2 separate regions of the Homo sapiens genome follow, and region 2 is linked to region 1. Evidence: promoter capture Hi-C in 16 types of primary human blood cells and fetal thymus (Javierre and others, 2016). All regions are on one chromosome and are shown on one strand. The core of a region is centred on a gene start or on the middle of the fragment in contact, and the rest is flanking DNA. Distances in the headings are between cores, read along the strand shown.

Evidence for each region. Contacts are between HindIII fragments. The CHiCAGO score rates a contact against its expected background, and 5 or more counts as called.
Region 2: a fragment that was not itself captured here is called in contact with the fragment with the promoter of ATP5MC2 in region 1 in 3 of 17 cell types (megakaryocytes, endothelial precursors and M2 macrophages); the score reaches 7.2 in megakaryocytes.

Annotation. Positions count from the first base shown.
Region 1 is chr12:53,673,534-53,678,452 of GRCh38, reverse strand. It overlaps ATP5MC2 (ATP synthase membrane subunit c locus 2), which reads left to right and starts at 2,370. Exons shown (of 5, transcript NM_005176.7): 1 at 2,370-2,400. RefSeq lists enhancers at 1,879-2,108, 2,219-2,668. The HindIII fragment of the contact is 5,549 bases long and covers 180-4,919 here.
Region 2 is chr12:53,519,324-53,523,759 of GRCh38, reverse strand. ATF7-NPFF (ATF7-NPFF readthrough) reads left to right here. Exons shown (of 15, transcript NR_159377.1): 11 at 376-484. ATF7 (activating transcription factor 7) reads left to right here. Exons shown (of 12, transcript NM_006856.3): 11 at 376-484. Among named protein-coding and RNA genes, the nearest start is that of ATF7-AS1, 7.6 kb to the right of the region's middle. The HindIII fragment of the contact is 8,402 bases long and covers 1-4,436 here.

The DNA.
Region 1 (4,919 bases), core at 1,121-3,620:
ACAGTCCATATAGGTAGCAGTGCAGAATTGAGTTGCAATGCCCTTAACTATAGAAGCAGTGATGATGATGGTGATGATGGTGGTGATGGTGGTGGTGGTGGTGGTGGTGGTGACGATGATGATTTTAATGCTAGCAATTACTGAACTCTTACTGGGTACCAAGTACCTTGCTAAAAGCTTCATATGTATTATCCCAATATTGGCTGTGTGATAAGTACTATTATTCTTCTCAATTTACATAGGAGGAAATAGATTTAGAGGGGGTTAAACAGCTAGCTCAAGATCACACAGCAATTTGGGAACCCAGATTTGTCTGAACGCAGAACCCATTATTCTATGAGGGCAAGGGAGTGTTAAACATCGCAGGCTGTAACAACTTTTGGAAAGAGCCAGCTTTAGCTTCCTCCCAGGCCCCTTCTCTGATCCTCCTCTGGGATTGTTAGCCATATCTGAGTGTCTAAATTGTCGCAACAGCTGCAACAGCCGTTTGGGGGTGGTGGCTCCTAAGAACTGTGGACTTTCTCTGCCACTGAGGATGTGAAGCTGACAGCTTAAAAGAATTCCGTTTTGGTGGGAATGGAGATGTCTGGAGACCTCAGGGGATAAACTTGTGTCTTTGCTAGCCTGTCTTTCTCCTAACAGCATCTCCACAGTGCCTGGCACCACTTGGTACTTGATAAATACCTGTTGATTGATTCCCAAAGATCCCAGTTCCATTTCCCACGTACCTGCCCGCTCGGGGCGCAATCAACAACTAAAACTGGAGATTTGGGGATTTCAGAGGAACCTGTGAGAATCCTGATGGAGCTGGAAATGCGAATTTAGGAAAGACAGGCAGTCTACCACCCTCCTCTTCTCGCCCGCTTCTCCTATTTCTCCCCACTCCTTCCCCTCCCTTTCAGGAGCTCAGGGCCATAAAAATGCAGATGGAGGATCGGTGTGAAATAACGGGCCCATATAAATCCCTCTGCCGCCCGCCTGCAAGATGGATTGGCCGCATTGAAATTCCTCCGCGAGGATAATTAAACTCGGGGCCTCATCCGGGCAAAATTACATTCCTGTAATGGCGTCGCTCGGGGTCCCGGGAAATTGCTCCGTGGGCTTTCAGCGGCGGTTTTTATCGCCGGCCGGGGTGTGCCTGTCTGCGGCTCGCCTCTCCTCCGGGACCGTAAAGCTGCTGCCGTGATTTATCCTCCCCTTCTCCCAAATCCGATTAAATGGAGGAGCTCGGGGCCGGGGCGCCGCGGGGCCCGGGAGCCGGGAGGGGGCGGCGGGAAGGACGGGGCCAAGGAGGGGAGGACAAACGGCCCCTCAGAGAGTGGCGGATTTGCCTTTATTTACAGCCGCGGCTTTCTTTTTATTTTTTATTTTTTATGGGGTTTGGTGAGCTTTTCCCGTCTTTCTCGTGCTGCGTTCAAGCACGATGCAGGGACGGCAGGGGTTTGGAACTGGATAGGCCTTGTCGCCCTGTTCCAAAGGGCAGGGCAGGTCCTGTCTGGGAGACAAGGAGGCCTAGGAAAGATGAGGGCCAGGAAGCCTCCCCCACCTCCTTCCATCAGGGGAAGGGCGAGCGAAAGGGGAGAGAAAACCCACGTTCAGGAGAGCATGGGGGCGGGAGGGGAGGGCGCTGCTTATCCCAACTCGCGTAGTTGAAACCTGAGCAGAGGCTCGGGCAAGCCTGGAGTGACCTCGCAACCTTACAGCGGGTCGCAGGTGCCCGTTATTCCTAGACTGTCCCAGGAGCCAGGAAAGAGGGATTCGGATCATATTTAACCCTATCTTCTGGCTCGCTGATGCTGCTTCTCTCATGGTTTATCACCGGAATGGAAAGGAGGAAACGGGGAGTGGGGGAAAGGGCGAAGCCACCAGAAGCAGCTGCGGCATTTTGCTGACTATTCGCCCATGGAGCCGGTTTGCCATCCAGTGATGCCAGAGTCCCGGCGCGACAGAAAGCAGGACTCCCAAGATCTTCCTCCTGCTGCATTTTAGGCACTGAACCCCAATCCCGACCGTATGTTAACACTGAATTCTGAGTAGGAGTTTTGTTTTGGCAGTGTGACGACTGCGCATGCTCGGAAAGGGGACGCAAGTCCGAGATCCCAAACGCGGTACAGACCAAACCGCAGTCCACGTTACGGATCGGCTTACTCCGCGGAGTTGGCCTCATTTCTGCAGTCGGCGCTCCCTGTAGTTTCTCCTCTCGAACGCCAGGTGGAGCAACCGGCCGGATACCGCCACAGCCCTGGCAGGCGGCGCTGTGATGCCTGAGCTGATCCTGTATGTTGCAATCACTCTATCCGTGGCTGAGCGACTCGTTGGCCCGGGTCACGCATGCGCTGAGCCTTCCTTTCGCTCTTCCCGCTGCTCCGCCCCTCTCTGTCTTCTCTGCAGTGGGAGCAGGTAAGGCCTTGGGACCTAGAGCCCTCTGTGCGCTGCGCACGCGCGCGGGACACCTCACCTTGCGCGGATGCTTTGAGGCGCTTACCTTGCGTGCTCCCACCCTGGTCCTCTCGCCCTTTCTTGCTTCCGCTATCCCTTAGCCTTAGAGTTGGCTCTTCCGCGTGCCGGTGACCTCCAACCGCGCGGGCCTGGCGCCATCTTGGATGTCTCGCAGGGGGAGGATACCTTGGAGCTGGCCAAAGTTAGATCCTGGAGTGCTGCTTTTCACCTGTTCCACCCAGTCCCTGCAAACACTCTTTTCTCGCCCTCTGGCCCTTTCAGATTGTGACAACCCCCAGGCTCTCCCCTCCTATCTCTGCTTTCTCTTCTCATCCTGACTTGTGCCTTCTTTATTCTGAAATCTCCAGACTTTAGGCCCCAGAACCTCAGGTGCTCCGAGCAATGGAGATAGTGGATCGTCTAAAGTCACCAATCCCTCTAGTCAGCACCCCTCAATTTAAAAAGTAAACCTTGAACATGGTAGAAGTGGGAAAAAAAGCCAAAACATCGCCTCCCGTTAGGTTGTGGCTTGGGATAGCTAAGGCAGAAGAGAGAGGCTGGTTGCTTTGGAATCACTAGTTATTTACCAGTACCTTTCTCGCATCCCGGCACGCTGGTGAAGTTGTAAAAGTCACAAATGGTGGGCTAGAGATGAGGGTTTCTGTTGAGGCAGCAGGCCCAGAAAGGTGGGGTAAGGCCAAGCTAGTGGGGCCAGCATGAGACCCTGCCTGCCAGCTTTCCTGTGAAGGATTAATTAACCTCCCCAGATTCTGCTGTTACAAGGAAAAGAAGGTTTAAGGAAAGGAATAGTTAAGTTACTACCCCTGTGACTCATCTACACTGAGGAAAAAGCCCGTGATGATTTTGGAGTCCTGATTCTGGATAGTGCCTTTGCCCAAGTTGTAGGCTAACAATTGCAGAGTTGCCATGGTTAGATAGCCAATGGTGGGATCACTTAATTGCCACCCCTTGTTGTGGGTTTATTATATGCCAGCACCACATTAAACTCTTTATGTATGTTAATTTGTAAATGAACATACTTAATCCCCCTAAGAGCTGCATTTTACAAAGAAGATAATAAGGTATAATTCCCTTAGAAAAGAACCACCCCTTCTTTTTCTAAAAGCCTTAAAGAACTATTGGATTTTGACCCAAGAAAACCTGAATAGTACGGCAGCAAAATTGGGTTAGAGTTACATATAGGCAAAAATCAGAGTTCTAGATAGGACAAGAGTTGAAGACATCCATTAACTTAAAAGTAATTAAGGCTGGGTGTGGTGGCTCACACCTGTAATCCCAACACTGGGAGGCCAAGGTGGGAAGATCTTTTGATGCCAGGAGTTCCACAATAGCCTGGGCAAAAAATAAATTAAGAGCAATTAAGATGTTGGATTCAGAAGTGTTTTAACCTGGGACAATCTGAGTTCAGTTCATTTAATGAAGTGGTATTTAATAGCCCTAAGCATTCACTGAGTATTTCAGCCTGTGACATATTAGAAAGCATGTAACTTAAAAGATCCAAGTTCAAGTCTATCCTCTACCACTACCACAGTTTCAAGACTGGGTTTAGGGTCACGCTCTTGCGTTAAGTATACCTAATAATCATCTGGGAAACTTGTTTGAAATACAGGGCACTTGAGCCTTATTCCCAGAGATCTTTTTTGTTTGTTTATAGACAGGGTTTCACGTTGTTGCCCATACTGGACAACTGGCGTGATCATAGCTCACTGAAGCCTCCAGCTCCTGGGTTCAAGCAGTCCTCCTGCCTCAGCTTCTGGAGTAGCTGGGACTACAGGTGCACTTCCACCTCACCTGGCTAATTTTATGTTTTGTAGAGATGAGGTCTTGATGTTTGCCCAGGCTGGTCTCAAACTCCTGGCTTCAAGTTATCTTTCCGCCCCAGCTTCTCAGTGTTGGGATTACAGGAATGAGCCACTGAACCTAGCTCCCCCAGAGATCTTGACCAGGAAGGTCCAAGTTGCGCCCAAGAATATGCATTTTTTAATACGTACACCACCCAGATAATTCTAGTTCAGATGGGCTTCTCACTTCACTTGGAGAAACCCTGCCTTTAGGTTTTTAACTCACCTTCTGTTTGAGGTAAGTTCACTTCTACCAACTTAGATACCTATAGGGTGTCAGATCTTCTTTAGATCTTGGGGAGACACAATTTAATACTTTTTTTTTTTTTTTTGAGACAGTTTCCCTCTTGTTGCCCAGGCTGGAGTACAATGGCGCAATCTTGGCTCACCGTAGCCTCTGCCTCCTGGATTCAAGCAATTCTCCTGCCTCAGCCTCCTGAGTAGCTGGGATTACAGGCATGCACCACCATGCCCGACTAATTTTGTATTTTCAGTAGAGACGGGGTTTCTCCATGTTGGTCAGCCTGGTCTCGAACTCCTGACCTCGTGATCTACCCGCCTCAGCCTCCTAAAGTGCTAGGATTACAGGCGTGAGCCACTGCGCCCAGCCACTAATAC
Region 2 (4,436 bases), core at 1,805-4,304, 160 kb after region 1:
AATTTTTTGCTAGAACAATGTTGCAATGAACATTGCATGCACCTGAGTAAACAGTTCTGTTATGTAGATTCCTAGAAGTAGGCTTTCTTAGTCAAAGAGCATGTGTATTACTAATTTCAGTAGAATCATATTTATCTTAAACAGGAGTAATGTTTCTATTATAAATCCTGACTTTTCACTGTAAGCAACTCCTGTCATTGAATTCATGACTATACTGGCCCTGGGCTCTGTGAAGCCTTGCTGGATCAGGAGTCTTGTCCCAATTCAGGGGAGAAAATCGAGGCAATATTCTGTCCTTCCTTTGGGAACAGCCACTGAGGGTGCAAGAGTAGAGGATGAATTTTCTTGATACTCTTTTCTTCCCTCCCTCCTCAGAATGAAGTCACATTACTACGCAATGAGGTGGCCCAGTTGAAACAGCTACTGTTAGCTCATAAAGACTGCCCAGTCACTGCACTACAGAAAAAGACTCAAGGCTATTTAGGTGAGTGGCACACAACCTAAGCTAAGTCAGTCAGTCAGTAAACTGCATGTACTGAGTGTCTCAACTGCTTATAATTTTATAACTCCATTCTGAATGTTCTGGGGACCCCACGCTGATGAGTGAGTGGCCCTTGTGGAGCAACCAGACCTAGAAAAAAAATGTTTTTGTAGACGATATAGAGCTAATTATCTGTTATAGTTGGGGGTTGAAGGGTAGCAATATTTACCGGGTGCATATTTTGTGTTAGGCATGCTACAGTCTTCCCAAGTCTCTCATGAAATGGATATTATCTACATTTATATGTGAGAAAACTGCACTCTGCACTCAGATTAGGTCATTTAGCCAAAGTTACCAAGCTGGGAAAGTGGTGAAGCCAAGATTTACATCTATGTTTTGTTTTGTTTTGTTTGAGACGGAGTCTTGCTCTGTCGCCCAGGCTGGAGTGCAGTGGCACGATCTTGGCCCACTTCAAGCTCTGCCTCCCAGGTTCACGCCATTCTCCTGCCTCAGCCTCCCGAGTAGCTGGTACTACAGGCGCCCACCACCATGCCCAGCTAATGTTTTGTGTTTTCAGTAAAGACGGGGTTTCACCAAGTTAGCCAGGATGGTCTCAATCTCCTGACCTCGTGATCCACCCTCCTCAGCCTCCCAAAGTGCTGGGATTACAGGTGTGAGCCACCGCGCCCGGCACATCTATGTTGTTTTTTTTTTGTTTTTGAGACAGAGTCTTGCTGTGTCACCCAGACTGGAGTGCAATGGCACGATCTCGGCTTACTGCCACCTCTGCCTCCCAGGTTCAAACAATTCTCCTGTCTCAGCCTCCGGAGTAGCTGGGACTACAAGCACCAGCCACCATGCCTGGCTAATTTTTGTGTTTTTAGTGGAAACAGGGTTTCATCATATTGGTCAGGCTGGTCTCAAACTCTTGACCTCAGGTGATCCACCTGCCTCAGCCTCCCAAAGTGCTGGGATTACAGGCATGAGCTACCGCGCCCAGCACATCTAGGTATTTCTTATTCCAAAGATACTGTCTTGGCCTAGAAAACACATAAACCACAGATGATACATTGGGATATAGGGTACATTTTATCTAATGATAGGCTGACGTTGGTTTCAGTTTGTAATCTATGAGTGCACATAAAATACTGCTAGAAGGCAATGGCCACAGAGTTGTGCTCAGGACATGTGCAATTCTGAAGTTAAAATTACTGTGAATAATTTGCCTATGGTCAATAAAAGCTAATAAATGCTAGTTTTCTTTTTACAAATTAAATTCATAGAACTATTGCTCTCAAACTTTGATATATTGTATTATTTTTCCACTGTATTATTTCAGAGATGTGTTCCCATAGAAAAGGAGTAACTATATCACCAATTTTAAACATCTCTACTTAAATTTTAATTTTAATATGTACTTCAGGGTGCATTCATTCATTAAGCAGATATTGATGGAATGTCTATTCTGTGCCAGTCACTGTTTTTCATGCTGGGGATATAATAGGGAACCAAATAAATTAGATTAAATCCCTGCCCTTGAGGAGCTTATATTTTAGTGGGTGAGACAGACAATAAACAAGATAAATAGGTAAAATATATGACATGTTAGATAACAGTAAATGTTAGAAGAAAAATAAAACAGGGAAGGGTAATATGAAATGTTAGCAGCAGGATAGAAATTTTAGATTAGGTGGCTTTTGAATAAAGACCTGAAGGAAGTGAGGGAGCTATATGCATTTATATGGAAGAAAAGTACTATAGGGAGGAGGATCAGCAACTGCAAAGATGCAAAGTCGCAAGGTACCTGGTACATCTAGGAACATCAAGGAGGCTCAGCTGGAGTTGGGGGTGGAGAGTAGTTGGAGACAAGTAGGGGACGTAATAGCAGCATTTTATGTAGGGTCTCATCAGTCATGGTGAGGATCTCAGCTTTTACTCCACACTGGGGGCCATTAGAGGGTTTTCAGCAGAAAAGTGATATAATTGATCTGACTAGGCTGGGCGCATGCCTGTAATCCCAGCACTTTGGGAGGCCAAGGCAGGCGTATCACCTGAGGTCGAGAGTTCGAGACCAGCCTGGCTAACATGGTGAAACTGCTTCTACTAAAAATACAAAAAATTAGCTGGGCGTGGTGGCATGCGCCTGTAATCCCAGCTACTTGGGAGCCTGAGGCAGGAGAATCACTTGAACCTGGGAAGCGGAGGTTGCAGTGAGCTGAGATGGTGCCATTGCGCTCCAGCCTGGGCAACAAGAGGGAAATTCCGTCTCAAAAAAAAAAAAAAAATTGATCTGACTTACATTTGAACAGGACATCAGGGGTACAAGGGCAGAAGCAGGCAGTCCACTTAGGGGCTGTTACGGTAATACAAGCAAGGGATGACGGTAGTGAAAGTGACGAGAGCAGGCTGAATCCAGGATATGTTTTGAAGTTAAAGTGATGAGAGCAGATGGGATGGTATATATGAGAAAAAGAATAAAAAATTACACCAAAGTTTCTGGCTTAAGCAACCACAAGAATGAAGTTGTCATTAATTGAGATAGGGTAAAGTGTAGGGGAAATGGTTTGGGAGGTATATCAGGAACTCAGTTTTGGACAAACTGAGTTTAAGGAGCCTATTAGGCTTACAGGTGGAGATGTCAAGCAGTCAGTTGGTTATATGGATTTGTAATTCAGAGGAAAGGCTGAAGATAAAACTCTGGGAGTCGGCAGCATATAGCTAGTTTTGGTTTTGTTTGGTTTGGGATTTTTTGGAGGCAGGGTCCACCTCTGTCTCCCAGGCTCTCAAGTGATCCTCCCCACTCAGCCTGAGTAACTGGGACCACAGGCGTGCACCACCATGCCCAGCTAATTTTTTTTTGTTATTTTAGAGATGATGTTTTGCCATATTGGCCAGGCTGGTCTCAGACTCCAGGACTTAAGGGATCTGCCCGCCTTGGCCTCCCAAAGTGCTGGAATTACATGTGTGAGTCACCACACCTGGCCATAGTTAGTTTTTAAAGCATTGAAACCAGATGAAGTTCCCAAGGGAGACAGCAGAGCTAGAAAAAGAGAAGTCCCAGGAATGAACCATGGGGTACTCCAACATTTACAGTTCATAGAAATGAGAAAGAACCCACAAGAGACTGAGAAGAAACAACCAGGAAGTGAGGAGGAAAACCAGCTACAGAGCCAAATGTGGTATTCTGTAAATCAAAATAAAAAAGTGTTTCAAGAAGTTCAGTGATTTTAAATCCTGTTGCTCGGTGGCTCACGCCTGTAATCCCAGCACTTTGGGAGGCTGAGGCGGGCGGATCACGAGGTCAGGAGATCGAGACCATCCTGGCTAACACGGTGAAACCCCATCTCTACTAAAAATAAAAAAAATCAGCCAGGCATGGTGGCGTGCATCTGTAGTCCCACCTAGTTGGGAAGCTGAGGCAGGAGAATCGCTTGAACCCAGGAGGCAGAGATTGCAGTGAGCCAAAATAGTGCCACTGCACTCCAGCCTGGGTGATAGAGCAAGACTCTGTCTAAAAAAATACCAAAAAAACAAATCCTGTTGATGGGCTAAAGAGGATAAGGACTGTTTATCAGTATATAATCTATATACGGTCAGTTTTCCACTTAGTCCCTGCAAGAACTCTGATACATAGTTAATCCATTAAACTACTTATTCTTTTTTTTTCTCCTGCCTCAGCCTCCCGAGTAGCTGGGACTACAGGCGGGCACCACCACGCCCAGCTCATTTTTGTATTTTTAGTAGAGACGGGGTTTCACCATGTTCCCCAGGCTAGTCTCCAATTCTTGGCTTCATGTGATCTGCCCACCTCTGTCTCCCAAAGTGCTAGGATTACAGGTGTGAGCCACCGCACCCGGCCTTACATATTCATTATAGCAAAGATGTATTTAGTTCCTGCTGTGTGGTATAGATATTATGTAAGTACCTGACACATGATGAATAAGACACTGTCACT